2 separate regions of the Homo sapiens genome follow, and region 2 is linked to region 1. The links are contacts of gene promoters, found by promoter capture Hi-C in blood cells and fetal thymus (Javierre and others, 2016). All regions are on one chromosome and are shown on one strand. The core of a region is centred on a gene start or on the middle of the fragment in contact, and the rest is flanking DNA. Distances in the headings are between cores, read along the strand shown.

Region 1 (6,519 bases), core at 809-3,308:
CCCAGATACTGGAACACCCTGTCGATGTTCCAGTGGCTCTGGGGTTGGAGATCTCACCTGAGGATGGGCGGGGGCGGAAGAGCGGACAGATTGACTTGGTACAGGGCCTCAAATTCAGCCCGGGTGCAGCAGGAGCCCCCTGCAGCCTGCAGGTGGCAGCAGTAGGCTTCCTCTGGAGAATCAGACAGACGAGGGCAAAAGAAACCAGGGTAGTGACGGCCATGGACATCCCGGGTGGTCTGGCACAAGTGAGGGTGGTGGACCAGAGCTGAAGAGAGAGGTGGGGGTGCTAGAGACAAGCAGGAGGGGCCTTTCCACAGCTCACTCCACCCCTACTGGAGAGTAAAAGAGATCAGCCCCTACCAGAAGAAAAGATGCCCTTCCACCCATCCCCATCAGTTCCAGTTCCCAGGAATAGCCCATAGCACCAGAGGCAGGTGGGCCACAGGGGTAAGTGCTGTACCTGAGAGAGAGGTTGGCTGGACAAGGGTCACCCAGCTGAAGAGCAGCAGTAGCCCCACAGATAGGCCTGTCAGCAAGGGGCCTGACCTTCTCTGGATGCCCATGAGAGTTCACTACCACCTCTGTCCTGGTCCTGGGAACCCCAACATCTCTCTTTCTAGGCCGTGACTGCAGACAATAAGGAAATAAAAGTCAAAGCCCCAAGGCCCTTGGGCACCATTAATACGAGCCTGAAGCTTCTCTATCACAGGCTTTTAGAGAGAGATGACAGGGACTGGGTTTCTGTCTCCTGTTGGAAAACGTGGGGCCTGCATTGCCAAACTGCTGAAGGAGAGAAGGCTCAAAGGACTAGAGGACAGAATGAGGGATGAGAGAGCAGCTGAGCCATTAGTATGAAGAACAAACAAGCATTTACAGCCAAATATGTTTCTACCCATTCTCCAACTTCCAGGCTGCCATGGAAGCTCTGGGAATTCTGACCCTCCTATTTCAGGTCCCAGAGACCTCAGTTCCAGCATGTGGGGCTTCCCTCCCTAACCTCTGCTACGTGGCAACCACCAAGACTAGCTGAAAACCAAGGGTGACTCCTTTCATTAGCCTTTCCCCTGAGCCTTATCTGCCCCAGCTACCAGCCAGAACACAAAAGCTACATGTCTGATTAGAGTATACTTAGCTAATAGGGAACCCCCTCTCACAGAGAAGTTCTATGGGGATCACCAGGTCTCTCTTACCCCTCAGCTGCCCCTAAGGCAGGGAATTTCTCCAGAAGGCCACCAGCCAGCAGAATTAAGTGTTATTCCAGTGCCTACCCAGGCCTGACAACATCATGCTCCCAGGACAGCAGTGACAACACTCATCACCCCAGGGGCCCACAGAAGATGCCTAGAGACTGAAATAGGAGCTCTCATAGCATAAGAAGACAAGGCAAATTTCATCTGCAACACTGAGGACAAACAAAGGCAGTTCCTGCAGAAACGTCACAGCTACCTGGGAGCCTAAGTCTGAAGCAATTAGGCAGGGCTCCCAGGGAAGGCTCTGATTTTTCAGGTCAGGCCCTAGGGTCTCCTGGAGGGTCCAAAGGTAGACTCCCCTGCCCACAGAACCTGGCCCATCCCTACAGGGAGAACTATTTTTAGAACACTTGGAGAATTTTCAGAGCTTTTACAGGTTGAAGATGGTTCTTGGGGGGAGCTTCTGGGAGAAGCTGTCTCTGACTCTGAGGGTGTGGGGATTGTTCTTTCTTCCCGCTCCCATAGTCCCCTGAGCCTTGGCCACCCTGGATTCAGAGCACTGTGAGGCCACTGCCTTATTTCTTGTCTGTCTTCCTCTTTTCCACAGACTGTGGGCTCCCAAAGAGCCAGGCTTATGTTCTTCTTGCACCCCCAACAGAGCACACTGAGCTGGGGGCTGCGATGCTGAAGGCAGCTGTCCACATCACTTGCTCTCTGCGCGGGCCGGTCAGCTCCAGAGGAATTCATCTGGGGCAGGCCCAACTCGGCCCGCTGAATTAGCCTCCACGATCCCCGGGCCTCCCCGGCGCCAGGGGGCGCTGTAAACGTTCCGTCCCTGCCCCTGCGGCCGCAGTCGTCGGCCCCATCCGCGCGATGGGCTCTGAGGCGGCGCAGCTGCTGGAGGCTGCCGACTTCGCGGCTCGCAAGCACCGGCAGCAGCGGCGGAAGGACCCCGAGGGGACCCCCTACATCAACCACCCCATCGGTGGGCGCGTCGGCCGCGGAGCGCCGGCTGCGGCACCTGGGTGGTGGGGACTGGGAAGGAAACGTGGGGGGCGTGCACCTCATTGAGCACCTGTTTTGTCCCAAGCTTAGTGCGATATACCGTTTAAGCCTCATAACAATTGGAACGGTAGGCATGATCGTTCCCTTTGTCGGTTGGCTCCCAGAGGGTAAGGTACTTGACCAAGGTCACCCAGCTAGTCAGAGTCCACAAGGGGCCACATCTGGCTCTCCAAAACCCACAACACACCGCCTTGGGACTACCTCCGACCTGACTTCCTGCTTTGCCCCTCCCCGTCAGGTGTGGCACGGATCCTGACCCACGAGGCGGGAATCACTGACATTGTGGTGTTACAGGTAACTTTCCCCCTTCTCTGCCAGGAGCCTGGGATGGGGATTAGGGGCCCCATTCAGCAATGGGCAACCCTTGGCTGACATCTCAGGGCTGAGTGGGAACTTGTCCCCAGGCGGCCCTGCTCCATGACACGGTGGAGGACACAGACACCACCCTGGATGAGGTGGAGCTACACTTTGGGGCACAAGTGCGGCGCCTGGTGGAGGAGGTAACAGATGACAAGACTCTGCCCAAGCTGGAGAGAAAGAGGCTGCAGGTGGAGCAAGCGCCCCACAGTAGCCCCGGGGCCAAACTGGTGAAGCTGGCAGACAAGCTGTACAATCTGAGGGACCTGAATCGCTGCACCCCAGAGGGTACGCTTTCGTATGGGCTGTAAGGGAAAAGGGAGGGGGATGCCGCCTTCTGAAGACACATGTTGGTCAGTTCCCCTGAAAAACCCTGGGCATTCTTAATTCCCAAATTAATCCTACTGGACCACTCTTTGATCTTCTTTCATACAGTAAAAATACAATAGCTGGGCCAAGGGGAAGTTTTCAGGACAGCTCATTCCATCAGGAACTCATGGCCTTGAACCAAGCTTGCCAGGAAGTGGGGAAAAGGCAGTGCTTTCCTTGACATCACGCTAGCAAGTTTCTGTCGACTCTTATGCAGGATGGTCAGAACATCGAGTCCAGGAATACTTCGAGTGGGCAGCGCAGGTGGTGAAGGGGCTTCAGGGAACAAACCGGCAACTGGAAGAGGCTCTAAAGCATCTGTTCAAGCAGCGGGGGCTGACAATCTGATCAGTGCTTGAAGCTATCCAGAGGCACAACTCCAGCCTCGTTCAGGCCGGACAGGATTCATACGCCATCTTTTCTGTGTCTCCTGAGCTCCCTCCATCCTTCCCAGATATTAGAGGCCAAAAAAAGACTTGCATTTTTTCTCAGTCTGAAGGTCTCCTGCTAACTAAGCTGAGCCCCGCGTGGTGGGAATCAGATGTACCCATCCATTTCTGATGCACTCACCGCCTCTCCCCAAGTCTTGGGTCTGTTTGCTATTTTGCATGGTGGGATCTCTGGCCCCTCAGGGACTTGAGATTATTTAAGTACTAGTTCCTAACACGTTCTGGAAAATAAAAATAACTCTGGGTTAAGGTTTAAGCTGCTGCTGCTCCTTCTCCAGCCTCCGACTGGTGGGCTGCATATCTTTCCTTCAGCAAAGCAGGACTAATTGTGTGTCCCGGAGTCACCTCCCTCAGGTTGCGGGCCTCAACCCCTCCGAACCTGGCTTCCTTGTCAGTGACATGGGTTGTGTAATTATCAGGTTAGACTGTGACGTGCCTGATGGAGCCTGACACATAGGTGCTCAAGAAATGGTAGCAGCCTTTCCCGTTAAGAAAGTTGGAAGGGGGCCAGGCGCGGTGTCTCTCGCCTGTAATCCCAGCACTCTGGGAGACCGAGGCGGGCGGATCACTTGAGGTCAGGAGTTCAAGACCAGCCTGGCCAGCATGGCGAGGCCCCGTCTCTACTAAAAATACAAAAAAAAATTAGCCGGGCGCAGTGGCTCGCGCCTGTAATCCCAGCTACTCAGGAGGCTGAGGCAGGAGACTCGCTTGAACCCGGGAGGCGGAGTTTGTACTGAGCCGAGATCGCGCCACTGCACTCCAGCTTGGGTGACACAGCGAGACTCCGTCTCAAAAATGAAAAAAGAAAAGACGTATCGGAAGGGAGTGCCGCCCGCTTACTGACAACCACTGCTGGGCACCGGAGAGACCCCAGCAGCAACATGATTGGGCCGGTGGGGGATTCCGGTTCCCCAGTACCTCAAGCCGCGCGGGAAACTCGGTGACTCGCAATCCCCTCGCCCTTCCGCATTGCGGGTTACTTCGGTTGTTAAGTGACAGGGACTTCCGGGAAGGCCCGGAAGTGGCCCGGGGCTGTCCGACCCCGGGAGCCCGGCGGTCGGCGTAGGGGAGGCGGTGGAACTTTGCTCGGTGGCCATGGGGAGGGATTGCCCGGTGGTGGTTTTTCAGTCGTTGCTGAGCAGCTGAGGTTTATTTTTATGTATTTTATTCTGCATCCAGTCATCCATTAAAGCCAAAGTTTATTAAGTTGTCTGGAAAAGCGATCATCTTGGGTACGAGGAAATTGTTAGGTCAAAGCTGTTCGACTACGATAGTTGTTTGCCCAAGTGAAGGCCCCAGCGGAGGGCTCTGCGAAAAAGTAGGTGAAAGGCAACCAAAAAAGCCGAATTAAAAGAAAACAAATGAACAAAGTTCAGAGTAATCCCCAGGGTATGGTACATTTTGGAGAACTTTGAACTTAATTTTTTTAAATAGTTTTGCGGGAGTAAGATAACGAGATTTTTTTAAGAAAAGATGACTTTGTTGTAGTCCACTTTATATATTTTGTTGCCTGTGTTTTTAGTGTCATATCTAAGAAATCGTTGCCAAATCTAATGCCATGAAGCTTTTCCTGTTTTCTTCTAGGAGCTTTCGTTTTAGCTTTTTTTTTTGAGACGGAGTTTCACTCTTGTTGCCCAGGCTGGAGTGCAATGGTGCCATCTCTGCTCACCATAACCTCCGCTTCCCGGGTTCAAGCTATTCTCCTGCCTCAGTCTCCCGAGTAGCTGGGATAACAGGCGTGCGCCACCACGCATGGCTAATTGTTGTATTTTTAGTAGTGACGGGATTTATCCTTGCTGCCCAGGCTGGTCTTTAACTCCTGACTTCAGGTGATCCACCCGCCTTGGCCTCCCAAAGTTATCGTTTTAGCTCTTACAAGTAAAGTTTTTGATCCATTTTGGGTTAAATTTCTTTTTAAATCAATTTAATTTGGTATAAGGTATACATGATGTTATGAGGCTACATACAGGTAGTAAAAAGGTTACTATAGTGAAGCAAATTAACACATCCATCATTTCACGTAGTTACCCAATTTTTTGTTGTTTTTGTGGCAAGAACATTTTGGGTTAATTTTTGTATATGGTGTAATTTTTTTGTATATACACCATATACAAAATATATGATGTATGGTTTTGCTTGTGGATGTCCAGTTTTCCTAGCACCATTTGATGCAAGGTCTGTCCTCTTAGTACCTGTTTTTGGATTTTTTTATTTTTTATTTTTTAGTAGAGATGGCGTTCCACTAAGTTGGCCACACTGGTCTCGAACTCCTGACCTCAGGTGATCTGCCCACCTCAGCCTCCCAAAGTGCTGGGATTACAGGCGTGAGCCACTGTGCCCAGCCTTGAATAACTCTTCACAATATTGCTTTCTAGAATTTTAGTTCCTGCCTCTTTTTAAACTATAAACTAGTATTACATTTATAGCCAGTATTTAGGTGTACCCTCCCTCTCATTAGTTTATGCCCCTAGACAAATTCTCTTTTTGCTTAAGTACACCTACTTTCTTCCACTAAAGTTTTGTACATTGCAAACTGTTGAGTCTTTGCATGTCTGAAAATGTCTTCATTTCCCCCGTGCTCTTGAATGGTGTAGCTGATAGCAAATTCAAGGCTGAGTTTTCTCTAGGTTTGAATGGACTCCAGGTGTCTACTGTAGCTAACTAGATGTCTGCTATCACTGTGATTGTCTTTCCTTTGTAAGACTTTTCTATTTTTTTTTTTTTGAACAGCATCTCCAATTTGCATTCATAAAATTATTAATCCAAATTGCGAAAGTAGACTTTTACAGAGTCACAGGTCAGTAACAAAACAGGAAATGAAATGTTCCAGAGCCTTTTTTTTTTTTTAAGATGGATTCTCGCTCTGTCACCCAGGCTGGAGTACAGTGGCGCAATCTCGGCTCACTGCAACCTCTGCCTCCTGGGTTCAAGCGATTCTTATGCCACAGCCTCCCTAGTAGCTGGGATTACAGATGTGTGCCACCACGCCCGGCTAATTTTTGTATTTCTAGTAGAGACAGGGTTTCACCATGCTGGCCAGGCTGGTCTCAAACTCCTGACCTCAAGTTATCCGCCTGCCTTGGCCT
Region 2 (6,519 bases), core at 1,651-4,150, 550 kb after region 1:
TTCAATGTATTCACTCTTCCTTCAGACTATTAAAGATACTTGAAAACCTGTAAGAACAAAACACCCCTGTAGAAAAGTGGGCAAGGGTTTCATTTATTAAGCCTACAAAGTAAAAAGTTATTTCATTCTTAAGCTTTTAAGTTCACTTTACAAATTGTATTATTCTATTTATAAGTCTAGCACATTTTACCAAACACTTTTCAGAAACTGAATGATTTATTTATTTCGGAGGCGGGGGGGTCACATTTTTATTGGGGGCCACAGGGGACATGGTCTTCTCCATGTCAATGGAAGTGCTTGCAGTTTCTTCAACCACTCCATGCTTGGGCCTTGGGGGTGGCTGGGCATGTCCAGCATGTTCCCATCATCTCGGAGGGGCACTGGGTTGTTGTGGGGCGTGGCCTAGTTGATCCTGGTGGAGTACATGGTATAGGGGCAGACTGGGGTCAGATTTATAGCTAGGCCCCCGATGGTGAGGAACAGGACCAGCACCCGCTCCTTAGGCCAGGCATTCTTGAGAAAGGCAGCCGCAATGGCAACGAGGACATAGAGCATTCTGAAATTTCCTGAAAATTTTTTTTTAAGTCTCACTCAGTTAATTCAACATCTTCAAATATTTAAAATTATGCCTACTAGGGCAGGCACAGTGGCTCACACCTGTAATCCGAGCACTTTGGGAGGTCAAGGTGGGTGGATCACCTTAGGTCAGGAGTTCGAGAGCAGCCTGGCCAACATGGTGAAACCCCCGTCTCTACTAAAATACAAAAAAATTAGCTTAGTATGGTGACACACGCCTGTAGTCCCAGCTACTCGGGAGGCTAAGGCAGGAGAATCACTTGAACCCAGGAGGCAGAGGTTGCAGTGAGCCGAGATTGTGCTCCTGCAATCCAGCCTGGTTGACGGAGCGAGACTGTCTTTTAAAAAATAATAATAATTGCCGGGCACGGTGGCTCACGCCTGTAATCCTAGCACTTTCGGAGGCCGAGGTGGGCGAATCACGAGGTCAGGATATTGAGACCATCCAGGCTAACACGGTGAAACCCCAGCTCTATTAAAAACACAAAAAAAAAAAAAATTAGCCGGGCATGGTGGCGGGCACCTGTATTCCAGCTACTCGGGAGGCTGAGGCAGGAGAATGGCGTGAACCCTGGAGGCGGAGCTTGCAGTGAGCCAAGATCATGCCTCTGCACTCTAGCCTAGGCAATAGAGCGAGACTCCATCTCAAAAAAATAAATAAATAAAAATAAAAAATAATAATAAAGAATAAATTGTGCCTATTATATTGTCTATATTAGATTTCCTATTACATTTTCTTTTTTTTTTTCTTTTGAGATGGAGTTTCACTCTTGTCACCCAGGCTGGAGTGCAATGGTGCAATCTCAGCTCACTGCAACCTCCGCCTCCCGGGTTCAAGGGATTCTTCTGCCTCAGCCTCCCAAGTGGCTGGAATTACAGGCACCCGCCACCACACCTGGCTAATTTTATATATATATATATTTTTTTATTAGAGATGGGGTTTCACTATATTGGCCAGGCTGGTCTCAAACTCCTGACCTTGTGATCCACTGGCCTCGGCCTCCCAAAGTGCTAAGATTACAGGCATGAGCCACCGCACCTGGCCTAGATTTTCTTTTTAGTTCATTCAATCGTATAAAACTTTTTCAAAACTTTTTTTTTTTTTTGAGACGGAGTCTCACTCTGTCGCACAGGCTGGAGTGTAATGGCACAATCTTGGCTCATTGCAACCTCTGCCTCCTGGGCTCAAGCGATTCTCCTGCCTCAGCCTCCTGAGTAGCTGGGATTACAGGCACGCACCACCGCGCCCAGCTAATTTTTGTATTTTTAGTAGAGACGGGATTTCACCATGTTGCCCAGGCTGGTCTTGAACTCCTGACCTCAGGTGATCCACCCACCTCTGCCTCCCAAACTGCTTGGATTACAGGCGTGAACCACTGTGCCCGGCCTAGATTTTCTTTTTAATTCATTCAATTGTTTAAAACTTTTTCAAAACTTAGTAATTCCTATAAATAAACATACAAGCATAACAAAGCTAACATTCTCTTAGATGGCCTGATTCCATGTGTAAACTTAGTAAGCTTTCAACTCAAAAACCTAAGTCTAAAACTAACTCAATTACACATTTAAAATGATTTACAAAAAAGCTGTCATTCAAGTCGGCCAAATTTTCTTAAACATTGCGAATACATAAAATGTGAAATATTTCTTCTTCTTCTTCTTTTTTTTTTTTTTTTTTTGAGACAGAGTTTCACTCTGTCACCCAGGCTGGAGTGCAGTGGCGTGATTTCGGCTCACTGCAACCTCAGCCTCCCAAGTTCAAGTGATTATCCTGCCTCAGCCTCCTGAGTAGCTGGGCTTACAGGCGCACACGACCACACCCGGCTAATTTTTGTATTTTTACTGGAGGTGAGGTTTTGCCATGTTGGCCAGGCTGGTCTCGAACTCTTGACCTCAAGTGATCTGCCCACCTTGGCCTCCCAATGTGCTGGGGTTATAGGCATGAGCCACCATGCCCAGCCGAAATATTTCTTCTTAACTCCAACATATTAATCCAATTGTTCATTCCATAAAGGCTTTCTTTACTTAATTACAAAGTTTGTCTGAGGTGAAAGCCACAGAGATGTTAAGTTACCAACTGCACTGGTACCTTACTATACTAAGTGTTGCACATTTATTTTCTCAGCTGATCCTTGTAATAATCCCATTATGTCCATTTTACACTTGGGAAAATGGAGAACTGGGTTACTTACCTGAAGCCACACAGCAAGAGGCAGAGCTGGAACTCAAACCCAGGCCTGTCTAATGACAAAGCCCAATTCCTAGTCAATAAACTCAAGATTCAGAGAAATAGACATTAAGATAATAACATGCTGGCCAGGCACAACGGCTCACACCTATACCCCCCAGCACTTTGGGAAGCAGAGGAGAGAGGATTGCTTGAGGCCAGGAGTTCAAGACCAGCCTGGGCAAAATGAAAAACCCCGTCTCTACAGAAAATACAAAAAATTAGCCCAGCGTGGTGGCATGCTACCCAAAAGGCTGAGGTGGGAGGATCGCTTGAGCCTGGGAGTTGAGGCTGCAGTGAGCTGTGATCCCGCCACTGTGCTCCTGCCCAGGTAGACAGAGTGAGACCCATCACCAAAAAAAAAAAAAATAGAAAAGATAACATGCCACATATCACTTCTTGCCTATCATATGTAGCAACATTTTGGTTTGTCTTTTTAATTGATATTATTGGCAAGGGGGTGAAAAAGCAACCACTCTTATGCAATGTTAGTAGGCAATAAATTAATATAGTCTTTCTAAAGACCAGCTTATCATTATGCATCTATTCTTCAACCAAAAAACTTCACTTCTTGGAATGTATCATAAGGATATCGTGCTTTTATTAAATGTGCAAAAGTTATCCATGAAGATGCTCCTTGGAAATTACTCAAATGTCCATCAGTAGGTGTTTAAATCAGTGATGGCAGCTATACACAATAGAATGCCATATAGCCATGAACAGTGATGATCTGTGGTCTGGTCAGGCTTGACTGGCTACAGGAAACAGACATGCACAGTTTTACTTCTAGAGGAAAAAAGGCTGGAAGGGAGGCCTTTCTTATACAGACCTATATGGACTGGAACTGCACCAAAAACAAAACTACACTAAACAAAAAAAAACAGGACTAATGAAAGCTTGAAGTCATGGTTTCATTCTCTGGGCATCTCTGCTTTTCCACAGGCTGGCTCTACTCTCCACTCTTTGCTAACCAGCTTACTCCATTTAATTTTTTCTGTTCCCTCACAACTCTTGTTTCTGCTTGCCTTGCCATGGCTTTGACTGAAGGTCATGGTATCCTTACATCATCAGCTCCATTGAGGATCATCTCAATTGCCTAACTCCATAACCCATAGAGTGGCATATGATTGACCCAGCTCAGCTTTCCACCCTGTGGGTAAATCTCTGACCACCCACAGGCAGGCTGCCCTTAGATTGGATGCTGATCCTTTACTTCAATCAACTATGATCAGGAGATACAGATAATTAAGCATAGAGAACTATGAGCTGGGCATAATTTCCTTCAGTGGGAGGCTGGGCAGGCAAAAAATGTACAGGCTGGCAGTACAATATTTTAATATTGTGGTTAAGTTAATATATCAAATTATGACTAATAAATATGATACCATTTTGTTTTAAATGTAGCTAGATAGATAGATACATTGATGGATATGTGCATATGAATAGATAAAGCCTTGAAGTATATACACCAATATATTAACAGTGGCTTCTCCAGGCAGTGCTATTACACTGGATTTGTGTGGGGTTTGCTTGCTTGCTTGTCTGTATTTAAAATGAGCTGCTGGAAATACTATTTTGTCAGCAAATATAAATATGAATAAAATTAGTAAATATGAAATGAATAAACGGCAAAATAATGAGGTAAATGGTCATTTTGGGAGTCAAAATTGGTTAATGACCACAAAGAATTTACAAGCCAGGAGGAGTCAAGCAATATTAACAGGATATCTTGAGATAAGCACCATAATAGAAGTTTCCCTTGCTTGGAATACCTTTTAGCCTATTATCTGCCTGGGAAACTCCTACTGAACCTCCCAGACCCAATTCAAATGTCACCTACTCCCCAGGCAAAATTAATCACTTCCTCATTTATTATATTTCCCAGTAGTACTTTTAGAAACCAGGTATCTTCAGAAATAAGTCTTACTGTCTAGTAAGTACAACATTTTCAAGAAATAAGTCCCAATTTTTTTTATATTTAAATGCCTCTGAAATCAGGATAGGTCTTACAATCAGTGTTAAGAGAAACTAGCCAGCTACCAGGAGAAAAGTAGATGGAGAAGTAACACAATTGTTGACATAGTTTGGATATTGGTCCCCATCCAAATCTCATGTTGAACTATAATCCCCAGTGTTGGAGATGGGGCCTGGTGGGAGGTGATTGGATCATGGGGGCGGTTTTCTCTTGAATGGTTTAGCACCATTCCCTTGCTGCTGTTCTTGTGATAGGGAGTGAGTTTTCATGAGATCTGGTCATTTAAGAGTGTGTGGCACTCTGTCTCTCACTCTTGATTTCACCATGTGATGCGCCTCCTCCCCATTCACCTTCCACCATGATTGGAAGCTTCCTGAGGCCTCCCCAGAAGCAGATGCCACTATGCTTCCTGTACAGTCTTCAGAACCGTGAGCCAATTAAATTTCTTTTCTTATAAATTACCCAGTCTCAGCCAGGCACAGTGGCTCACACCTATAATCCCAGCACTTTGGGAGGCAGAGGTGGGTGGATCACTTGAGGTCAGGAGTTCAAGACCAGCCTGATCAACACAATGAAACCCCATCTCTACTAAAAAAAGAAAAAAAAATAGCAAGGTGTGATGGTGTGTGCCTATAATCCCAGCTACTCCGGAGGCTGAGGCAGGAGGATCACTTGAACCCAGGAAGTGGAAGTTGCAGTGAGCCAAGATTGCACCACTGCACTCCAGCCTGGGTAACAGAGCAAGACTCTGTCTCAGAAAAAGGAAAAGGAATTACCCAGTCTCAGGTATTTCTTTCTAGCAATGCAAAAATGGACCAACACAGAAAATTGGTACCAAGGAGTAGGGCACTGCCATAAAGATACCTGAAAATGTGGAACCGACTTTGCAACTGGGTAACAAGTATAGGTTGGAAGAGTTTGGAGGGCTCAGAAGAAGATAGGAAGGTGAGGGAAAGTTTGGAACTTCTTAGAGACTGGTTAAATAGTTTCAACCAAAATGCTGATAGTGATATGGACAATGAAGGCCAGGCTGACAAGGTCTCAGATGGAAGTGAGAAACTTCTTGAGAACTAAAACAAAGGTCACATTTGTTGTGTCTTAGCAAAGAGCTTGGCTGTGTTCTGTCCACGCCCTAGGGATCTGTGGAACTTTTAACTAAAGGGTGATGATCTAAGTGTCTGACAGAAGAATTTTTTTTTTTTTTTTTTGAGACTGAGTCTCGCTCTGTCACCCAGGCTGGAGTGCAGTGGTGCATCTTGGCTCACTGCAACCTCTGCCTCCCGGGTTCAAGCAATTCTCATGCCTCAGCCTCCTGAGTAGCAGGGATTACAGGCACCCACCACCATGCCCAGCTAATTTTTGTATTTTTAATAGAGATGAGATTTCACCATGTTGACCAGGCTGGTCTCGAACTCCTGACCTCAGGTGATCCGCCCACCTCAGCCTCCCAAAGTGCTGGGATTACAGGCATAAGCCACCACACCTGGCCAGCAGAAGAAATTTCTCAGCAGCAAAGCATTGAAGTTGTGGCATGGCTGCTTCTGACAGCCTAACTTAAATGTGGGAGCAAAGAAATGACTTAAAGTTGGAATTTATATTTAAACAGGAAGCACAGCATAAAAGTTTGAAAAATTTGCAGCCTGGCTATGTGGCAAAGAAAGAAAAAGCTTTTTCAGGAGAGGAATTCAAGCAGGCTGTGGAGAGCCACCATTTGCTAGACAAATTTGCTTGACTAAAAAGG

The links. The method cuts DNA at HindIII sites, captures the fragments that hold promoters and counts their contacts. A CHiCAGO score of 5 or more calls a contact.
Region 2: a fragment that was not itself captured here is called in contact with the fragment with the promoter of HDDC3 in region 1 in 1 of 17 cell types (naive CD8 T cells); the score reaches 5.0 in naive CD8 T cells.

Annotation. Positions count from the first base shown.
Region 1 is chr15:90,928,088-90,934,606 of GRCh38, reverse strand. HDDC3 (HD domain containing 3) reads left to right here and starts at 2,058. Exons shown (of 4, transcript NM_001286451.2): 1 at 2,058-2,178; 2 at 2,497-2,552; 3 at 2,663-2,903; 4 at 3,202-4,639. The coding sequence starts at 2,067. The coding sequence ends at 3,332. It also overlaps a transcript of UNC45A not described here. RefSeq lists enhancers at 137-236, 1,861-1,910, 2,661-2,890, 4,521-4,750. The HindIII fragment of the contact is 1,585 bases long and covers 701-2,285 here.
Region 2 is chr15:90,379,837-90,386,355 of GRCh38, reverse strand. It overlaps the pseudogene NDUFA3P4. Among named protein-coding and RNA genes, the nearest start is that of IQGAP1, 5.1 kb to the left of the region's middle. The HindIII fragment of the contact is 1,603 bases long and covers 2,099-3,701 here.